Linked DNA regions of Homo sapiens: region 1 is linked to region 2. Evidence: promoter capture Hi-C in 16 types of primary human blood cells and fetal thymus (Javierre and others, 2016). All regions are on one chromosome and are shown on one strand. The core of a region is centred on a gene start or on the middle of the fragment in contact, and the rest is flanking DNA. Distances in the headings are between cores, read along the strand shown.

What was found. The method cuts DNA at HindIII sites, captures the fragments that hold promoters and counts their contacts. A CHiCAGO score of 5 or more calls a contact.
Region 1: a contact is called between the fragment with the promoter of TYSND1 here and a fragment that was not itself captured in region 2, in 1 of 17 cell types (M0 macrophages). The highest score is 5.2, in M0 macrophages.

Annotation. Positions count from the first base shown.
Region 1 is chr10:70,142,236-70,148,205 of GRCh38, forward strand. It overlaps TYSND1 (trypsin like peroxisomal matrix peptidase 1), which reads right to left and starts at 4,465. Exons shown (of 4, transcript NM_173555.4): 1 at 3,186-4,465; 2 at 1,607-1,737; 3 at 433-618. The coding sequence starts at 4,351. SAR1A (secretion associated Ras related GTPase 1A) reads right to left here. Exons shown (of 7, transcript NM_020150.5): 7 at 5,054-5,970. RefSeq lists silencers at 3,367-3,596, 3,927-4,236 and an enhancer at 3,727-3,776. The HindIII fragment of the contact is 18,251 bases long and covers 2,580-5,970 here.
Region 2 is chr10:69,935,726-69,941,426 of GRCh38, forward strand. It overlaps COL13A1 (collagen type XIII alpha 1 chain), which reads left to right. Exons shown (of 41, transcript NM_001368882.1): 33 at 1,031-1,057; 34 at 1,910-1,990; 35 at 5,263-5,298. Among named protein-coding and RNA genes, the nearest start is that of LINC02636, 71 kb to the right of the region's middle. The HindIII fragment of the contact is 153 bases long and covers 1,252-1,404 here.

The sequences.
Region 1 (5,970 bases), core at 3,215-5,714, 210 kb after region 2:
TTAGAATACCAGCCAACGTTAGGCCCATCCTCCTTCATGGCCACAGTCTGCAGCAGCTGAGTCGAGTGCGCTTCAGTTTAGACCCCTCCCCTCCCCTCCCTGTTGTCTTCTCATTCATTTGCTTTATCTTTCCAGCCTCTGTTGGCTTTTGAGTCTGTGACGCTTTGACTAATCCAACTCCTCAATTTCACAGATCAAACCAGATTAGATTAGTAGCAGAGAAGGGACCAGAGCCCAGATCTCTTTCCTCCCAGTCCAGCATCCGTCCCTCTCCACCATCAGGAGAACAGCCTGCAAACCTTCGCTAGCTCACTCATAATGCCCACCATTTTCCCAGACAGAGGGTGCACTGGGGCTGGCCACAAGCACTCATGGGGTGGGACTGAGGTTCTGGCAAGTGGGAGGGCGGGAGGGGGCCAAAGAGCTGGTTACCAAGGAGGTTTCCTGAGTGGTTGGAGAAGAGGGGTCCCCCACTGGAGCCGCTGTGCACAGCACACGTGGTCTGCAGCATTACGGGCGTGCCATTCACCTGCACCACAGCCGAAAGGATGCCTGAGGTCACCGAGGGCCCGCAAGACTGGCCAAAGACGCCAAAGCCCACCACACTCACAGCCTCGCCTGCCAGGGAAGGAAGGAGGGTGAAGCTGGGGACACCTGTGTTACAGCAGGACTCACACTCCCTAACTCCCATCCCTACCCTCTCCAAACATTCCAAACCTCTCCACCCTTCAAGTTTCTGCTCAGATACTCCTGCCTCCAGAGAGCCTTCCCCATGTCCCCTGGCTGGAAGAGGCTGAGAACTCCACTGAGCTCCTAGCACTGTATCTGCATGACCACTTCTGAGCAACAGGCTGTTCCCTAGTCCTTGTTCCCTGGACAGGCGGGGCAGTGACTTTTAGGAGTTCCTAACACCTACCTACATGCTCAATAAATGTTTGTGGAATTCACACCCATCTCCTCCTGGAACTCCTAAGAAGTCTCTTCGTGAAAAGAAATGGTGATGATGGCTATAATGCAGCCATGACCTTCCTTTTCCAAGTGCAGGGTATGGGGGTAAGTGCTTTACAGGCAACGTCACACCCAGCCCTCACAACACCCAGAAATAGGATGCATTAGCCCCATTTCAAAGACGTGGAAAATGAGGCAGAGGATAGTTAACTAGCCTGTCCAAGGACATGGGACTAATAGGTGGCATAGGAAAGATGCCCATCCAGAGCCCCTGGACCCTTCATCACTGTATCACACTGCCTCCATGGAGTGCAACATCAGTACTTATGTGGCAGCATCACAAAGCCTTTTACCCAAATCGTGCCCCTGGAGCCTTGAAAGTGCCACATGCCTCTCTGACCAGCCTGAAGTGTTAAGGAACCCCAAAGGCCCAGCATCCTCACACTACATTGCTGCAGGCACTCGGGGAAAGGGCGTGCAGCATTATCCTTCCCAGGGCACTCCATGTGCCCCACCAGCACAAAAAGGGAGGCAGGCCTCCAAGGACCTTGACCAATGCTACCCTGACTTCATGAGAATGCCCAACACTGATTCTCCTTCCTGAGGCCCACCCTAGCTCAGAGGGGCCCTCCTTCAGGCTGCGCCCTTCGTCCTTTACCTTCATGGAAGTGCTCAGCGGGCACAGGGATGGGGACATCATCCAGGTCCTCCTCCAGGCTCACCACTGCTATGTCATAGGGACATGTCTCCTGAGTGGCAAATACCACACGGCCCCAGATGGCCACACTCCTGGGAGCAAGGGAAACAAATGACAGGCTAGCTTTCTGACTCCTCAGTACTTGGGAGAAATCAAGGAGCTGAGAGTGACAGTAAAAGTCAGAAGATCTGGGTATCAGCCCTGAATCGACCAGCAGGCAACTCTGGGCAAGTCATGTAACCATTCTGTGGTATCTCCAAAGGTGGTTGACAAACTGTGCTACTTCTCTAAAGCTTCCTGTACCTGAATAATCAACCTGACACTTAGTGAGCACTGTGGGCCAGGTTTGGTGTTAGTGTTTTGTGGACATCACTTTATTTAGTCTTCACGACCCTATAAACTAGGCACTGGCATTATCTCCATTTTAGGTGGTATAACTGAGGCCCAGAGACGCTCAGTAACATTCCCAACACCAAACAAAGTGGGAGGAGCCAAGGCAAACACAACACTTTCCTTCACTGCCTCGTTGATACCCACAACAATCCCGTCAGTTGGTGGGTCAGATATGACATGGTTTCACTCCTCTGGGTCCCTATTTACGTACACGCTAACACTTCTGTAGCACACGACGTGACAGGCTCCGTTCCACGACATTCAGCGTCAACTCCCGGGGAGGCAGCTTAGACAGGTTAAGTGACTTGCCCGGGATCAGACAGGGGCGTCCTACTACACACTCTGCAGGGGTAGCTTCCAACAGACCTGGCAGTCTCCTTAGGAGCAAGGGGCATGTGGGGGGAGTGGAAGGAATCTGGTGGGGGCCACACACCATAGGCAAACCTTCATCATCAGTCTTCCCTATAAAGTCATGGCTGTCCTATAGGCCACAGTGGGGACACCTATGGCAAAACTGGGCAGTGTTACCCACACCTGGCTAAGCTTGGGGATTCAGGAAGAGATTTGGAAAAGCCTGGGCTGCAAGGCTGGGCTGAACCATGTACAGCTGCGTGGGCCACCCCCCTACCTTCTGATTACGTAGAAACTCACGTTTCACTCAGACGGGAAGCTCTGGCTAAGCACTAAAAGATGGATAAAATTAACATACCCATCTCCTTACCCCAGGAGAGCACCATCCTGGGCCTCTGGGACCTTATCACTTTCAGAGGAGAAGCAGCAGGGTTAGGGAATCTCTGTTCAAAGGGCCAGAGAACCGAGGGGTATGGCGTGCAGGGCTATCAGACAGTGAAGCTGCCCAGAAGAAACTCAGCCTTTGAGGGGAGCTCAAAGATGCCCTGTTCCGGATTCAGGGTGTCCCACAGTACCCAAATCCAGAGCTGCTTCGAGCTTGACACCTTGCCCCAGATTCTCCCCACAGGGGTTCTGGGTATAAAGGATGAGGGGAGGGTTCCAGGTCTCTACCCACTACACGCCCAAAGCATCCGCGTGACACAAGAAAGGCCTGCACAATACTCAAGAGTATTAGGGCTGGACCCAGATCTGAGACCTGGAAAGGGATGAAGTGGCGTCAGCCCTGCGGGCTTACTTGGGGGTGGTGGAGCGCACCAGGACCCTGGCTGCTTCCCGAGGGGACACGTGCCGACAGGTCACTACAAGGCGGGGTGCCACAGCCACTCCGGAGCCCCATACGGTGCCGCACTCCACCAACACTGCCGCGGCTGCCCACAGGGGCCCGGAGTCTCGGAGGGGCAGACCCCACGGGACGCCCACCTCTGGCGGCAGAAGGGCGGCCAGGGCAGCGGTGCTGTGCGGCAGGCGGTGAAGCGCGTCGCGGGCGGCGCGGAAAAGGGGGGCGGCGGCGCAGAGCAGCGTGAAGCCCACCCATTCGCCGGCCTTCCAACAGAGCGGCGCCACCACCAGCGCCACCAGCGCCCCCGCGGGCCGCGCGGTGAACACGCCGCCGCCCTCGGTGCCGGGCAGGCAGCGTGCGTCGGTAAGCAGCAGTGGGCCGGCCACGTTGCTGAGCACCCCGCAGCTCAGCGTGTTGAGAAAGATGTCGGGGCAGAAGGCGCCGAAAGGGGAGCCGCAGACCAGCAATGGCGCACCCTTGGGCACGGCCCCGAGAGGCGACACCGCCATGGCTGGCCCGCGCTCCTCCTCCACCTCCTCCTGGCCTAGCCGCACGCCCAGCAGCGCAAACCAGCCCAGCGCTCTCAGTTGATCCGCCTCCTCGTCCTCCGACACTTCGTCATCCCGCGCCGCGCTCGAGAAGCGCCACTGTTCCGCTGCCTCGTCCCCGAAGAGGCGCGCGAAGTGGGCCCAGAAGGCCGGGCAGCTCAGCAGCAGCAGCAGCTCAGCAGGAAGCCGGGGCTGCAGGGGACGCCCGCGGGACGGGGCAGGTGGGCCGGGCTCGAGGCTCGCGCACTGGGGCGTGCACAGCCCTGGGCGGCCCCGCTCCGCGCCGCCCCCGGGACCCGCGGCCGTTGGGGCCCACTGCACGTGCAGGCGCAGGTCGTCCCTGCAACTGTCGCCAGGCAGGAAGACGGCGCCGGCCGCGGTCAGGACTTCGCTGCCAGCTCGCAGGAAGGGGACGAAGATGCCCCCGTGGCAAAGCACCAGGCCCGGGCTACGGCTCAGGATTACCCCGCTGCAGCTCCACGGGCCCGCCTCGGGCTGTCCGGCCCGGGAGGCGCTCACCATGCAGCCCGCCTGCTCGGCCGCCCTCATGGCAGACCCCCACTGCCTTCTCATGGCCTCTAGGCCGGACACTCGGGAGCTTCTCCGAGAAACAGCAAGCTAGCGAGCGAGGACCCCTACCCGGTCCGGCTGAAGCTGCCTAGCGCCACCCACAGCTGGAAGCGAGAGGCGCAAGCTCTGACTCACGTCTTCCTCATCGAGCCCGATTGGCTAAGCCCCAATTGACCCGACCCGATTGGCTGGGCTTGTACCGAGCTCTGATTGGCTTCCTATTCTGATTTTTTTTTTCCTTTCCCCGCCCTCGTTAGTTTGTCCAACCGGTGGGACATAATCTGCCCCATTCCCCCGGATGAGCCCCGGGGAGAGTAAGAGGAGTGCGGCGTCACGAGGAATCAGAGGAGAGGAGGGTGGGTCCCTTCAAGCCTAGTCTCGTTTGCTGGAATGTGGGAAAGGGAATAGAAATGAGCGCTGACGTGCCTAGATTTGCCCAGGCCACGACAGTACCTGTGAGCATCTGCCCAGGTCTAGGCGACCTTCAGCCTCTGACCCTTGGGATAATATGGACCAAGGAAATCCTTGGCCAATTCAGTGTTTTGAAAATTTAAAAGTAAACCCTATAGCAATCCACTAGGGGGCATGGAACTCTCAAGATTACTCCTAGGATTTTTTTTTGCTGCCAAAGCCCCAACACAAATCTCCGAGAAACTGGATTTGCTGTAAATTAAATTGCCCTTTAAATCGACTATGAACAGTAGCTGAAATCAAAAATTTTAATCATACAGGCCTATATTTTACAGTGTGCACATTTCACATAACATAACCACCAGCCAGGATTTATCTAGGCCAGGGTCCAAATACTTTCTGTAGAAGGCCAGAATGGAAACAGTTCCAGTTTGGGGGGACCATACAACTTGTCTCAAATAGTCAACTCTGCAGCTGTTGCATACAAAAGCTAAAGGAATGGCGGTGGCTGTGTCCCAATAAAAAGATACAGACATTGAAATTTTAATTTCATACAATTTTTTGTGTCCAAAAATAGCATTCTTTAAATATTTTTTCCAACCATTTAAATATGTAAAAACCTTTCTTTGCTCACAGGCCATACAAACACAGGCAGCAGGCCCGATTTGACCCACAAGGCATAGTTTACCATCTCTAGTGTACACTAACATAAACTGCTCTACTTTTCCAAAGAAGTACGCTTTAGGACAGAGGAGGATGAACGAGTATGTCGGGGAGTGGGGGGGCGCGGAGCTTCATGATACCCTCAATCAGTCACCACAAGCTAGACAGTTTACAAAGGTCTGCTTTATCACTGAATTGATAAAATACACATTATTTTTTATTTATTTATTTATTTTTTTGAGACGGAGTCTCGCTCTGTCGCCCAGGCTGGAGTGCAATGGTGCGATCTCCGCTCACTGCAAACTCCGCCTCCTGGGTTCACGCTATTCTCCTGCCTCAGCCTCCCCAGTCGCTGGGACTACAGGCGCCTGCCACCACGCCCAGCTAATTTTTTGTATTTTTAGTAGAGACGGGGTTTCACCGTGTTAGCCAGGATGGTCTCGATCTCCTGACCTTGTGATCCGCCCGCCTCGGCCTCCCAAAGTGCTGGGATTACAGGCGTGAGCCACCGTACCCGGCCATCATTAATTTTTATTAAGGTTACTGTA
Region 2 (5,701 bases), core at 78-2,577:
CTGGCACAGTGGCTCACGCCCGTGATACCAATCTGGCACTCTGGGAGGCTGAGGCAGGTGGATCGCTTGAGTCCGGAAGTTTGAGACCAGCCTGGGCAACATAATGAAACCCTGTCTCTTCTAAAAATACAAAAAATTAGCTGGGCGTGGTGGCACACATCTGTAATCCCAGCTACTCAAGAGGCTAAGGTGGGAGAATCACCTGGGCCCCAGAGATCGAGGCTGCAGTGAGCCAAGATGGCACCACTGCACTCCAACCTGGGCAACCAGAGTGAGACCCTGTCTCAAAAAAAAAGAAAAAGAGAGAAAGAGAGGGAGGAGGGAGGGAGGGAGGGAGTGAGGGAAGGGAGGGAGGGAGGGAGGGAAGGAGGGAAGGGAGGAAGGAAGGAAGGAAGGAAGGAAAGAAGGAAGGAAGGAAGGAAGGAAGGAAGGAAGGAAGGAAGGAAGGAAGGAAAGGAAAGGAAGGAAGGAAGGGCGAGCCCCAGCCCCACTGGATTGGCTTTCCTTGGCTACAGAAATGTAACCATGGGGCCCCTGTGCATCACCCCTAGAGGGCCCCCAAGCACCCTGAAGCAACAGATGCTGGCCCATGCCTCTGTGTGGTTCATGGTCCCCAAGGCACTGTGTGTCCTCTGTTGTGGATGGTAGAAGTAGCAGTAGGAATAATGATAGGAGCCAGCGTTTATTGAAACTTATTGGATGCTAGACACTGTTCCAAGCACTTTGCCTGTATTAATTTAATGTTTGCTGTGTTACCTCCGTGTCTTTCTTTCATGAGACTCTGGGTCAACCATGAGGACCACAGAGAGATTTTCTGTGAGCCCTGGCTGGAAAAGACTGGCTCAGACTATTCCCTAGGAAGCCCCAAGCATGACCCCCACTTAGCATTTCTTTCTACCTCTCATGGGCAGGGACCCCAAACCATACTCTGCACCCAAAACCCTTGTTCTTCTGTGATCCATTTGTGGACTAGGCAGTTGTGTTAACTAGAGATGCAGTTCTAATGCACCTTGCTTTATTCCAAATGCAGGGGCTCCAAGGTGTTCCTGGACCAAAGGTAAGGAGAAGTCACATGACAGGCGCTGTGTCAGTGCTAGTAGAAAAGAGGGAAAGTGCACCTGAGACCAGCTGACCCTTTTTCCTAGAAGGCATTAGGTGACACTCCAGCCAAGGGGGTCCAGTCAGGGCAGGAGGAAGTCCTAGATTCCCTTTAGCATCCATCATTGACACCTGGTGTGCTTTGGCTTCAGAAGCTTCCCATCTGTCACCCCACAAAGGGACAGGTTAGATTCTTAGCCAATGGTTAAAATCCTTTTCCCATCAAACCTGCCCTGGCCCCTTCACTCATGCCGAGTAGAGGTGGGAGAGAGACAGCAACATAGGGTGGGACCCCTCCCTGGGTCAAGCTTGGGGGGACTCTGCACTGGGCTCTCCCGGCCTCCCCTGAACCATTTCAAATGGATGAGGGGGCTGGGGGCTGTTGATGTGACAATGGCCCTTTCCTCATGCCCTGGTATTCAAGAGACTTCGGGGCAGTTTGTTCTCCCGACTAGGCTGTGAGCCTCAGGGCTCTGGAGGTAGCATCTCAGGCATCTGAGCAAATCTCTGTAAGGTTCCCATTCTCCTGCCATGCAGTTGGGCACCTGTGCCAAGGCCTGACCTGTGGGTTTGTCCCCAGGCCACCTAGTCCTTTTCTCTGTGGGGCTCTCAAAGCTCCCACAGGATACAGGGGCTACTAACTGAGGCGAGAGTAGGCTAAGAATTCAGGGATTCTTGGTATCCTCAGCCTGCCACCCTGACCCCTCCTTCCTCTACAAATGCCACCCCAGCCTCCAGGACCCCAGAATGCAAGAATGAATTGTCTGGGACATGTCCTTGTGTGATCTCGTCCCCTCTCCCTTTCCTCCAGGGGGAAGCAGGACTAGATGGAGCAAAAGGAGAGAAAGGCTTCCAGGGAGAAAAAGGAGACCGTGGTCCCCTGGGACTACCCGTAAGTACCTTGGACCCAGCAAGACTGGTGGGTTTGATGGGCCAGGGGTGTGGGCTGGGACTGGGGGACAGCCAGCGGAAAGCTAAGGTTCTAGAGTCTGAGCATCCAGAGTTCCATGTGGTTTGTCTTTCCCACCTGGGCAAGACCACAGGCTCTGATTCTCTTCCTCCTCTGGGCCCAGGCCCCACCTTGGTGCTGGGGAAAGGCAATGCTGAAGAAGACAGGCTCCCCCACCCCAAGGGGCACTGAGCTGGGAGGGCAGCTTCAGGCCCTGCTTGAGCCTGGTTCAGAAGCAATCAAAGCCTGCTGCCTTTACGGGGCCAAGCTTGGAGGGTTTGGAAGTAGTGGGACAAGAAGATAGTCTCCATTACAGTCCATTTTCCCAGAGGGACCCCAAGAGAACTCTTGCTCCCCCCTCTTAAGCACTGGTCATTGCAGAAAGGCACAGACAAAGTCAGACTTTGTGGTCCCAGCAGGCCAAGGCCGTTCATCTCCTGGGTTCGTGGAGATCTCTGATCTCAGCCTGCCCAGAGCCAGAAGCCCCAGGTCAGAGGTGGGGAGCTGCTCAGAAGGTGTTCACATGTCATGATATGGGGCTGGGCTGGATAGGGCTGATGGCCTCTTCACTGCCTCACCTGTGTACAGGTGAGCGCATCCCACCACCCTCCCTGGAGCCCGGGCTCCATGCCCCCTAACCCTCCACTGAGGTTGGCATTCTTCCAAGAGCTGGAAGGGATGTTAGCGATCCATCCCATCATTTCACTGATGGTCCCAGAGAAGAAAGTGGGTCACTGGAGGTCACATACAAAGTTGGTGGCCAAGCCAGAGGCTGATCTGAGGCCATGGCCTTGCAAAGCGACTCCTTCCAGCCACTCAGGCTTCCTCTGTCCTGGGCTCAAGGCCAGTTCCCACCCCAGGTAGCCATAAAGAGCAGAGAAACAATGGAAAGCCCAGTTACCCCCGCTTGGCAGAGCTTGAAGGCCTGGTTAATACAATCACAGCAACCAAACAGCAAATGCAGGAGGTATAATTATACCCTCATGAATGCATTCGAGGTAGGAATATTTAAGAAGCCAATCTGCTTGACAGACTACAGAAAACTGATGACTTTAGCAGGCATTTTCCCATGTCTTAAGCTGTGTCTGGAATGATTAAGTGCTCCTTACTATTAAAGAGCCTTCCTGCCCCACTCAACCACAAACCTCTTCTTATCCACATTCATGGCCCCAACGACCTTGATGAACACTCGAGAATTCAGTCAGGGGTTGAAATGCAAAAGGCACAGCGACCAAACAGGTAATATTAATATAAACAAGGAAAGTGCCAGATGAAAGACAAAGTACCTACTCTATCATTAATTTTCTCACTTTTGATAGAGGCATGGGTACAGAGAAGTATTTTTTTTTAGTTTAAGTAAACAACAGAACAAGCATTCATATGAGACAACTGACACAAACCTGAGGGAGACACTAGGGAGTGGAGGGGACTGTGGTGCACTAGAGACCGTGTATCCCTTCTTAAGGGGAACCGTCCCTTCTCAGCTCAGCTGACTGTTGCCTTGGAGGAAGGCGGAGCTGGTATTTCTGGATCTTCCTATTTTTCAAAGGAAGTTAAACATCTGGTGTTTTATGTGAAATCTTTCCATTTTCTAATATTAGATCAAAATTATTTGCAACACTGCAGACCATAAAAAATATGTCAGTGGCCCACATATGGCCTGAAAGCCTCTAATTTGTGCTTTCTGCTCCAGACCTCTCAAGACAACTGAGTTTTAATGCTGCATTTTTTTAAAGTACATGGATATTTAGCTACCATTCTGTTTCCAGGTTTCACCTGGATGTTTTATTCTATGTAGTAGCAGCCTGCTTCTCCAGGCATATCCTGGAGTGTTCCCCCATTTGCCCTGCAGAAGCAATTCTCAATGCTGGCTGCACACTGGAATCCCCTGAGAGCTTTTCAAACTCACCATCACCCCGGGCTTCACTCTTGGAGATTTTGAATTGCATCGGGCTGGGATGGGGTGGGACCCAGGCATCTGTTTTATTTAACATTGCCCCCAAGAGATTCTAATGTGCTGCCAGGGCTGAGAACCACAGCTCTCTAGCCCAGTGAGTCAAGGTCGGTCCCAGAATCGTGTGGTCCTAAATCTGAGAAGAGTCCCTGCAGAGTCCTTCTACCCAACACCTTTTCCATGAAGCAGCAGCTCGTTGCCTCCTTCTTGGGACTTCCTTTTCATTTGAAATTCTGAGGCTGAGGCTCAGTTGGAAGCAGTTTTCAAGCACTCAGTCCTTACCAGGCCAGAGTATTGCCGCTGCCTTCTCCCTGACTTGTCACATTGGAATCATTAGAAAAGGGTCCCTGGGTTTTCCTGGGTGGGTTTCAGAGGCAGCTTCATAACCCAGGGTTGGAACAGGAGTGCCACCCCACCCCCGACCCACCAACCTTGTATTTCACTGGACAAGAGCAAGTAAGGGTGCTGATAGCAGGTTGGTCTCAGTAGCTTCCCACCTGCTGCCCATTTGCTCTGGGAAATACATGGCCTTAGACCTCTGTCCCAGGCCGCTGCCTCCAAAGCCTTTGCCTACACAAGAGCCCTTGTCTGGGAGCATATGAATGGATCGAGTTTAGGTTGAGCATCTCAGACTGTAAAGTGCCAGCGAAATGTCAGGCATCATTTGTAATATCATCTAAGAGCCAACTCATTCCCCCAGGGTGAAGGATAAGCAGAACAACTCCTACCCAGATTTCACAACTGGGTGCTGTCACCCAGGGCTGAGACCCTCAGGGGCACCCCAGCATGGCCTGATCCAAACAGGAATGCAAAGAGGCTGGGAGAGCCGTCCTCACCTGGGGCCCCTCCCCAGTGAAACCTGTCCTGGGAAGGGTGCACAGCTCTGATTCCAAGACATCTCTCTAAGCATTCCTTTCTGTATCCCTTTCCCCATAACACTGAAGGGAGAGGGGTTTCTGAGAGGGAATAAAGGGAGAGAGGAGAAGGGGGGCGGGAGGAGCAGGTGGCCATCTGCGCCGACCTCCACCCAGCCTGCTCAGCAGCCAGCCACTGCATTCAGTGTCTCCATGTTTTCGTTGGTTTCCATGTAAATACCATTCCGTGTCCTCCCAAGCTTATTTCTCCAGTTGTGTTTGATTACCAGCATTTATGTCTGTCCAGAGTCACTGCTTTACTCACCTCTTCCCTCCCCATTGTTCCCTTTTTCTCCCTCCCAATCCTCTCTTCCCCTTCTTTTGGTCAAACTGTGCCCTTCGTCCAGGGAGCTTCAGGTTTGGACGGCAGGCCTGGGCCACCGGTGAGTGTCACTTCTCCATCACCCCTCACCCCACTCCACTCCACACCTGGCCTGTGATCCCTTTTGTCTGTCCCACTGTGGCCTCATTTTCCCAGTGAATCATGCCTGGTCCCACCTCCGACACCAGAAAGGTGCCACTGATGCTCTGAAGTGCCTTTTCTGGCCTCTTGACCAAATATGGCTGGCCTTCATCTGAATGCCCCTGTCCACAGAATACACCCAGGGACCTCAAACCTGCCAGGTGTGGGGTGGGAGGCCACTCCAGCAGCACCGCTCCTGATTCCACAGGAATGCTGAGTCCAGCCTGGGTGCCCAGCCCTGGAGGTTTGAGCCATGGCCTCTCCCCACCAAACACACCAGTGTCTGTGTGTGCCCGTCATGCTGTGTTGTCTTCATGCTGTGA